2 separate regions of the Homo sapiens genome follow, and region 2 is linked to region 1. Evidence: promoter capture Hi-C in 16 types of primary human blood cells and fetal thymus (Javierre and others, 2016). All regions are on one chromosome and are shown on one strand. The core of a region is centred on a gene start or on the middle of the fragment in contact, and the rest is flanking DNA. Distances in the headings are between cores, read along the strand shown.

Evidence for each region. Contacts are between HindIII fragments. The CHiCAGO score rates a contact against its expected background, and 5 or more counts as called.
Region 2: a contact is called between a fragment that was not itself captured here and the fragment with the promoter of IL2RB-AS1 in region 1, in 1 of 17 cell types (naive CD4 T cells). The highest score is 5.3, in naive CD4 T cells.

What each region holds. Positions count from the first base shown.
Region 1 is chr22:37,164,881-37,169,216 of GRCh38, reverse strand. It overlaps IL2RB-AS1 (IL2RB and C1QTNF6 antisense RNA 1), which reads right to left and starts at 2,458. Exons shown (of 2, transcript NR_199008.1): 1 at 2,253-2,458. It also overlaps a transcript of IL2RB not described here. RefSeq lists enhancers at 864-923, 2,238-2,287. The HindIII fragment of the contact is 5,870 bases long and covers 1,391-4,336 here.
Region 2 is chr22:37,205,220-37,209,631 of GRCh38, reverse strand. SSTR3 (somatostatin receptor 3) reads left to right here. Exons shown (of 2, transcript NM_001051.5): 2 at 1,793-4,412. The coding sequence starts at 1,829. The coding sequence ends at 3,085. Among named protein-coding and RNA genes, the nearest start is that of SSTR3, 5.1 kb to the left of the region's middle. The HindIII fragment of the contact is 4,892 bases long and covers 1-3,871 here.

The sequences.
Region 1 (4,336 bases), core at 1,209-3,708:
AACCCCTCTGTAAACAGAACCCCTCTGTAAGTAAGAACCCCTCTCTGTAAGCAAGAACCCCTCTGTAAACAGAATCCATCTGTAAGCAAGAACCCCTCTGAAAACAAGAATCCTTCTGTAAACAGAACCCCTCTGTAAGCAAGAACCCCTCTGAAAACAAGAACCCTTCTGTAAACAGAACTCCTCTGTAAACAAGAACCCCTCTGTAAACAGCATCCCTCTGTAAACAAGGACCCCTCTGTAAGCGAGAACCCCTCTGTAAGCAATAACCCCTCTGTAAACAGCATCCCTCTGTAAACAGAACCCCTCTGTAAGCAAGAACCCCTCTGTAAGCAGAACCCCTATATAAGCAGTGCCCCTCTGGCACTGGGCGTGGAGGGAAGGAGATGGAGCTGGGGAAATATTAGGCTCTGGTGATAATTGTTGTTCCCCAACTGCCTTCAGCCACCTAGTCTGTGCCTTGGCTCTTGCAGCTCCCTCTGTCTTGGGCCCTTTCTCTCGACCCATTCCGGCCTATGGAACACTCATCCCCATCCTCCCAGAGAAGAGGAAGAACCCAGCCTTCCTCAGGTGCCTCCTGCATGCCAGGAACTGTGGGTGATGGCTTCTCTGTGTGCACAATCTCATGCCATCCCCATGAACCTAAGAGGTGGGGAGTAGTCGCATGTTTCAGATGCAGAAACAGGCTCAGAGAGGTAAAGGAACTTATCCAAGATCACACAGCTAGGAAGTGGCCAAGGTGGGATGGGGACCCAGCCCTCACTGCCTTTGCACAATGACCCACTGCCCACAGCACCGATGCCACATCCTCTGGAGCCTCCCCTATGGCTCCAGCCAAGCCACGTTCTATTTTTGGGTTTGTGTTTTTGTGTTTTGTCATTTGCAGGCGTTTCAAACTGGGCACGCTCTATGCCTCTCATACTCATTATGACCACATTTTCTAAAGACAAAACTGCACAGACAGCCTGAAAAAGTATTTTTTCTGTCTTGTTACTTTCTTTAATAACGTCTTAGCCAGTTTAGAATCAAATCACATGTATTTACTCTTCTCACGTGATACCAGGACTGTTCTGAAAGTTCAGGCCAAGGGTCACCACATTGACACGATTTCCTTAGTTATAATCATTTGCATACTTGTCCTACCTCCATACCAAGAGAAGGTACTCTGAGTTAGAGTTCAAATCCCACACATCCTTGTCATTCCCACAGTGCCCAGCATGCTGCTGCCAGCAGGTGCTCAGTAAATCCTTACTGAACTCATGCAAAGGGGACAGACGCCACCTCAGCCCAACACCAAGATTGTCCTCCCTCCCTCCCGCACCCCTTCCCTTCCTCCCTTGCTTCCCATCTTTCAATAAATGCAGTTTGAATGCATTTGTCACACAAAGCTTTAGGCTCAGAGAAGCTGTGGGACTCCATGCACTTCACCTGTGGCCTTGAGGCACCGCAGTCCAGCCAGGAAGACAGACACCAGGCAAATCCTCCCACCTATGCCCAGTCAATTAGGAATATGAGCACCTGATCCAGTGATGGGCAGGGCAGCATCCACTTTAGATGCACGGGGTGCTGGGAAAGCTGCCCTGAGAAAGTGACCGCAGGCTGAGGCCTGGGGCAGAGAGAACGTGGGCAGGGGCTCGAGGCAGGGAAGAGCTTGGAGACTTCCAGGAACTGCCAGACAGCCAGGGGCAGTGGGGCAAGGGAGAGAAGAAGCCAGAGAGGCCGCAGGCCTGGGCTTTCCATGGCGAGGAGGCCTGGATACTGCATAAGTGCAGCAGGAAATGTTGGGTGGGGTCGGATTTTCACTTTACAAGGGCAGTCGCTGGGGCAGAGGGCATGGGACTCAGGGAGGGACTCAGGAGGCAGAGAGATGGTGGGACGAGACTGAGGGTGCCGGCTGGGGCTGGGGGTAGAGGACTGTGAGCGCTTGGCACTTGGAGGCAGTCAGAGCTGGTCTGGGCAGGGGTGCTGTCACCCAGGGCCGAGGAAAGGGATACAGGAGGGGCAGAGGGTGGGTCGGAGGCTGTCCTGGGAACCCTAAACGTGGGGGCCAGGAGAAGGAGGTGCTCCCGTTTCTGATCTGTACCAATTAAGGGGAAGGTGAGAAATTGCTTGGGTGGAGTGTCCTTCTCTGAGTCTGGGGGTTAGGTGGGATGAGGGGACCTCGGAGGCTGGAGGCCAGAGTTCACACTCCTGCCCTGCTGTGTGACCTAAGGCTGAGAGCTGCCTCTCTCTGGGCCCAGATGCATCATTACCTATTCAGCAAGCAGCTGGGCCTGAGAGCCTCCGAGATCCCTTGCAGGTCTGCTGGTCTCGGCTGCCTTTCCTTGGTCTGCCCTCATGCTGTCTTCCCAGAAGCCAGGGGCCCAGTTTGCTTCCCCTGCTTGTCCTGTGGGCACTTGCGACTCCCGGGGAGGCAGCAGACACGGTCCAGCGTGGTCACGCTCCTGGCCGCGACTTCACCTCCCTCCTGCAGCACAAGTCTCGAGGAGGCTGGGGAGGTGCGCGCACTGCCCTCTGGTGGCAACTTCTGGGCCCACCTGTCATTGTGCCCTGCTGTTTTCTAACTCAATTATTCTTGAAGGGATGATTGAGCGCCTTTTGCATGCAAAGTCCCGAGGTAGGCATGAAGTAGTTGGGCAGTCCAGATGGGGGAGAAGGTGTCGTGGATGTGGAGCCCAGGGTGTCACTCTACGCGCTCCCGATCCCTCCCAAGGCCTAGGCGTCCTCCCTCCACCGCGGGAACGGAGCAGGGGTGGCACAGAACTCTGGTGGCTGCAATGAGGGTTCAACGGTTGAATGCGTGGAGTGCATCTTAGCTTCACTTCTGGCCCAGGAAGCGCAGGCTCCGTGTACAACACACGCAGCGGTGCAGTGCCTTCAAAGGGGGCGTGTGGCTGTGTGTGTGGATGTGCCAGTTTTGGGCTTCCTCTCGGCAGGAGGTGGGGGGGCGGGGAGGCTCTGGCGCTGAGTGCCCCCTTTCCATTGCGGTCCTTTGGTGCAGTTGAGGGTCCCCCCAGTAGCAGGGGCATTTCCAAGGAGCCAGGACTTCAAGGGCCTAAGGCTGGAGGGGCCCTGTCCAGTGCAACAGAGAGACCTTGAGCATGGGCGGTGAGGTCACCTCTCCTGGCCCAGCTATCAGCTGAGCTGGATGTGCATGGCTCAGGTTTGCACAAAGGAGGCCCACCTGTTCACAGGAGTTCTGGAAAGAACACACCTGTGGCAAAGACACACACACGTGCACACCAGACAGGCCATGATCTCGCTCCCCTGGCGAGGAATGACTTCCTTGCCGTAGGGAGAATTCAGGGGAGTCTGGCCCTCTTGAGGAGATGCTGTAGAGGGGAGTTGTGGACGGTTGGATTCAGGATGTTTTCAGCTCCAAGTGTCTGCTTTAGGCCGGTCTGCACCTGTGTCCTCCCCGCCTCTGTCCTTCTGGCACTTGCCCTGGGTAGGCCTGGCTCAAAGCCCTCTTCTCCCCTCCTCCCCCAACCCCACAAACAATAATAAAATTAAATTAAATTAAATTAAATTAAATTTTTAAAAAAAGCCCTCTTCTCCATGAAGCCTGCCCTGAAGAGGCAGCTGCCCAGGAGCATCTGCACATCTCATACAAACTTTAGCTGTGATTATATTGCATTCGTTCCCATGCCTATTTCCTGTCCCTGCAGCTAAACTCTGGGCTCCTTGAGGGCTGGGTGGAGTCTTGGGCATCTTTTGTGGCTGCTATAACTCCCAGCCCTGAGCCAGGATAATACAGACGCTTGACAAACGCTCCATGCTGACTGGCAGGTGTTCCTACCTTCCATGCCTGGGAAAATCATGATTCAGACTCTCCCTGGAGAGGCCACGGTCAGAGAAACATTAGGAAGGACAGAGTGGGTTCTGGAAGGCCAGAGGCACACGGCCAGAGCAGGCACAGATGCGGCCAGCCATAGCTCAAATTCTCATGGCTCTCTTCTTCCAAAGGTGGCGGCAGCCTGGTAGTTAGGAGCATGTGCTTAGGAGCCAGATGGCCCAGGCCCACATCCCATCTCTGACACTTATCACCTACCTGTGTGCGGCCCTGGGCGAGTTATTTAACCTCCCCGTGCCTCAGTTTTTTCATCTGCAAAATAGGATAAGAGTCCTAGTCTGCAAGTGCTGTTGTCAGGATTCACTGAGGTAACATGCGGCCTCTCAAACTTCTGTGCACACTCGAGTTGCTTGGGGACGTGGTGAAAATACAGATTCTGGCTCGGGAGGGCTGGGCTGGGGCCTGAGCATCTGCATTTCTGACCAGCTCTCAGGGAATGCTGATGCTCTTGAACCTGAAACTGCCTTCAGCATAGTCGGGAAT
Region 2 (4,412 bases), core at 176-2,675, 41 kb before region 1:
ATAGGATACTGCAGCTCACCAGCTTAGCCTGGCACCTGGCACAGTCAGGGCTCAGTGATGAGCAGCTGGCAGCACTGTTAGGATCCTCTAGCCCACTGTCCAGGTGCCCCTCCCTTAGTGCTGCTGTCCCAGGCTCAGGAGACCTGATGAAGGGTTGGGGAGAAGGATGGGTTGAGGACAGGTTAGGGGATGACCCAGGCTCAGAATCCTTCTCTTCTCCCAGCCCCAAGAACAGGGAGGAGATGCTCTGAACCCAGCCAGCTGGAGAAGCCACGGCCTAGGGGTTCCTTGCTACCCTTGGCTTCACCCAGCCTGGCACTCTGAGCCCGCTGCAGCCCCAGGTCCTTGGGGCAGGGGTAGCCAGGCGTGCTCAGAGGCGTTTGTTTGGATTTGGGGTGCCTTCCCTTCCCAGGAGCTTTGCACATCAACAGTGACATCCATATAGGGCAGTGCGGACCACAGCTCCCATTGGAGGGAGGAAGTGCAGGCCCAGTGTCAGGGATATTAGAAGAAGGGCTTCTCCTCTGAGAGATTTATCTTCCCTTCAGGGTTTTCTGCAGGGAGAATCCAAGGACAGCCAGGAGCCAGGGGATTGGGGGATCATTAGGAAGAGGGGGTGCAGTGGGTGGTCCAGACCCCAGAGGAGGCTCCTGCATCCAGCCTGGCTCTGCCTGGGCCTCCTCCTGAGCGTGGCTTTCCTCAGTGGGGCCTGACATTCCCCCTTGGCACTGGGCTTGGTCCACTGAAGGCTTCTCTGGTTCATTTGATGCCTGACACTGAGGCAGAGCTCGTGCCTGTGCGGAAGTGATGGGGCAGAAAGCAATGGGGAGGGTCCAAAGCTGGCTGGAGACTCCACAGGGGAGGGGATCAGAGTCTCGCAGGGGAGCCCAGAGGAGCCCCAGCTTCTTCTGCGCAGGCATGGGATGAGAAAGACACTAAGAAAGCACCTGGAGTGCGGGGGGGCTCTTGCTTATGCTGCAAATCCCTTCTGAAAATGTCCCCTTTTCCAGGCAGCTGGCCCCTCCAGCCAGGGGGAGGGACTACTCTTGGATAGCATCTGCTAAGTGAATTGTAAAGTTCTCCAACCCCAGCCGGCCTCTGGGGAGAAGGGGCCTCAGCCACCTGCCCCCCAGGTTCACAGCCAACCTTCCTGGGCAGGGCCTTTGGGAGGGGCACAGTGGGATGGCCCAGGCTGAGGGGGCACCTAAGGACTCTGACTCCCAGGGGAGGGGACACCCCAAGCCTGTGGTTCTTAACTCCATTTGGAACCTGAAGAATCTGATAACAGATCTGACATTAACCTTCACCTGGAGTTTAGGGCGTTCATGGATCCTCTGAAGTTCATCTAGGGAGCAGGTTTCCAGGTGAAGGTCCTGTGATATGAAGCAGTGTTTTTCAGATGTGAGGGCGAGACCTGTTGGTGGCAATGCAACCCACTTCACAGGGCCCTGCCAGCTGGGGCCTCACATGTAGAAAGGAAGGGCAGGTATTTGTTGGTGAAACAGTATGACTTCATGCCACACACCACACCCTCACTCCACGATGGAGAATGATCACCTCACCTCCCTGAGCCTCAGTTTCCTCATCTGAGAAAAGGGGATAACACGACTCAGCCTTGCGGGGCTGTGCGGGGTGAATGAGATGGTGCGTGCTAAGCACCTCCCATCTTCTGAAATCTCTCAGACGATGGGAGGATGGGCGTGCAGCAGGTCCCCAGGTTCGGCATGATGGGAGGGGGCAGCACAGAGAAAGCCATTCTCTGCTGTGACCGAGCTGTTTTTCCTTCCCCCAGGCAAATAGCTGACTGCTGACCACCCTCCCCTCAGCCATGGACATGCTTCATCCATCATCGGTGTCCACGACCTCAGAACCTGAGAATGCCTCCTCGGCCTGGCCCCCAGATGCCACCCTGGGCAACGTGTCGGCGGGCCCAAGCCCGGCAGGGCTGGCCGTCAGTGGCGTTCTGATCCCCCTGGTCTACCTGGTGGTGTGCGTGGTGGGCCTGCTGGGTAACTCGCTGGTCATCTATGTGGTCCTGCGGCACACGGCCAGCCCTTCAGTCACCAACGTCTACATCCTCAACCTGGCGCTGGCCGACGAGCTCTTCATGCTGGGGCTGCCCTTCCTGGCCGCCCAGAACGCCCTGTCCTACTGGCCCTTCGGCTCCCTCATGTGCCGCCTGGTCATGGCGGTGGATGGCATCAACCAGTTCACCAGCATATTCTGCCTGACTGTCATGAGCGTGGACCGCTACCTGGCCGTGGTACATCCCACCCGCTCGGCCCGCTGGCGCACAGCTCCGGTGGCCCGCACGGTCAGCGCGGCTGTGTGGGTGGCCTCAGCCGTGGTGGTGCTGCCCGTGGTGGTCTTCTCGGGAGTGCCCCGCGGCATGAGCACCTGCCACATGCAGTGGCCCGAGCCGGCGGCGGCCTGGCGAGCCGGCTTCATCATCTACACGGCCGCACTGGGCTTCTTCGGGCCGCTGCTGGTCATCTGCCTCTGCTACCTGCTCATCGTGGTGAAGGTGCGCTCAGCTGGGCGCCGGGTGTGGGCACCCTCGTGCCAGCGGCGGCGGCGCTCCGAACGCAGGGTCACGCGCATGGTGGTGGCCGTGGTGGCGCTCTTCGTGCTCTGCTGGATGCCCTTCTACGTGCTCAACATCGTCAACGTGGTGTGCCCACTGCCCGAGGAGCCTGCCTTCTTTGGGCTCTACTTCCTGGTGGTGGCGCTGCCCTATGCCAACAGCTGTGCCAACCCCATCCTTTATGGCTTCCTCTCCTACCGCTTCAAGCAGGGCTTCCGCAGGGTCCTGCTGCGGCCCTCCCGCCGTGTGCGCAGCCAGGAGCCCACTGTGGGGCCCCCGGAGAAGACTGAGGAGGAGGATGAGGAGGAGGAGGATGGGGAGGAGAGCAGGGAGGGGGGCAAGGGGAAGGAGATGAACGGCCGGGTCAGCCAGATCACGCAGCCTGGCACCAGCGGGCAGGAGCGGCCGCCCAGCAGAGTGGCCAGCAAGGAGCAGCAGCTCCTACCCCAAGAGGCTTCCACTGGGGAGAAGTCCAGCACGATGCGCATCAGCTACCTGTAGGGGCCTGGGGAAAGCCAGGATGGCCCGAGGAAGAGGCAGAAGCCGTGGGTGTGCCTAGGGCCTACTTCCCAAGGTGCCACAGGCCCATGATGGGATGTTGAGGGGCCTGGACTTTGATGCTATTGCTGCCAGGTCTTGCTGTGTGACCTTGGGTAGGTTGCTTCTACTCTCTGGGCCTTGTTTTCTCCTCTGTGACTCAGGGATAGGAGTCATCAGCCTGGATGAGCTATGTCAGATGAGAGGTTTGGAGGGCACTGTTGCTGGGCTGACCTGGCTGAGCAGGCAAAAGGTGGGTGCAGACTGGCCTCCCCCCAGGGATGGAGTGTCTTGGGGCATCAACTAGAATCTTGGCCCTCAGAGGGATAAACCAAGGCCAGGATTTCTTGGGCTCAGAGTCAGGAACACAGGAGCTGCTGGGGGCTGGGCTGGAAACCTAAACAGAAGAAAGCCTAACCCGGTGGGAGGAGTGGGGCAGAAATGGTCAGGCCCCAGATCAGCTCCCTCCCCTCGACTGTGAGGCCTTGGACCAGCTCTGCTCCTCTCTAGGCCTCAGGCTTCACCTGGGTAAAACCCAACAACCTCTACACCCTTTTGGCCCAGGCAGTCAATGCTGGAGGTCCTGTGCTCCTGGACGGGAAGAGCAGGTGAATTTCCTGCTCATGGAAGCGAATGAAGTCCAGCTTCAGGGTCTCTCACTGCCTGGGCTTTTGCAAGGCCCTGCATCTACTTTTGTACTTGTCATTTTGTATTCGTTTTCTTAAAGAGGGACCTCGAACTGCATAAGCTTAGGCCACCCAAAGCCTGGCTCTGCCCCTGCTGAGGTCAGCCACCCAATCCCCAAGGAAGCTCATGTTGGGTCTTATGGCTGGAGTAGGGGCCCCCGGGGGTTCCCAGGTCTTTTGAGGGCTTCCAGGCACCTCCTTGTAGGAAGGGCCATCCCTGTTCCTCTCCTTGTGACCCATATTCTCCCTTCCTGGAGACCGAGACAGGGACCCAGCCCATGAGGACTGGCATGGAAAGGCAGAGTGTCTGAAGAGCGCTGTGAGGAGAAGGAAGAGGAAGGGAGAAGAGGAAGAGGAAGGAGAAGGAAGAGGAAGACAAGGGGGAAAGGGGAGGATGAGGAGGGGGAAGGAGAAGTACAGATCTGTTTCCTGGAGCCGTCTTTGGCCCCCCTGGGCTGAGCTCAGTGGTAGCATCTGTGAACCTGAGTTGCCGACAACAGCCCCACCCAACCAGTACTGAGGGAAGGACACGATCAGGGTGGAACAGCCAGGGTGCAATGGCAAATGCACAGAGTACAGACAGGCACAGGGCCTGCGTCCCTGAG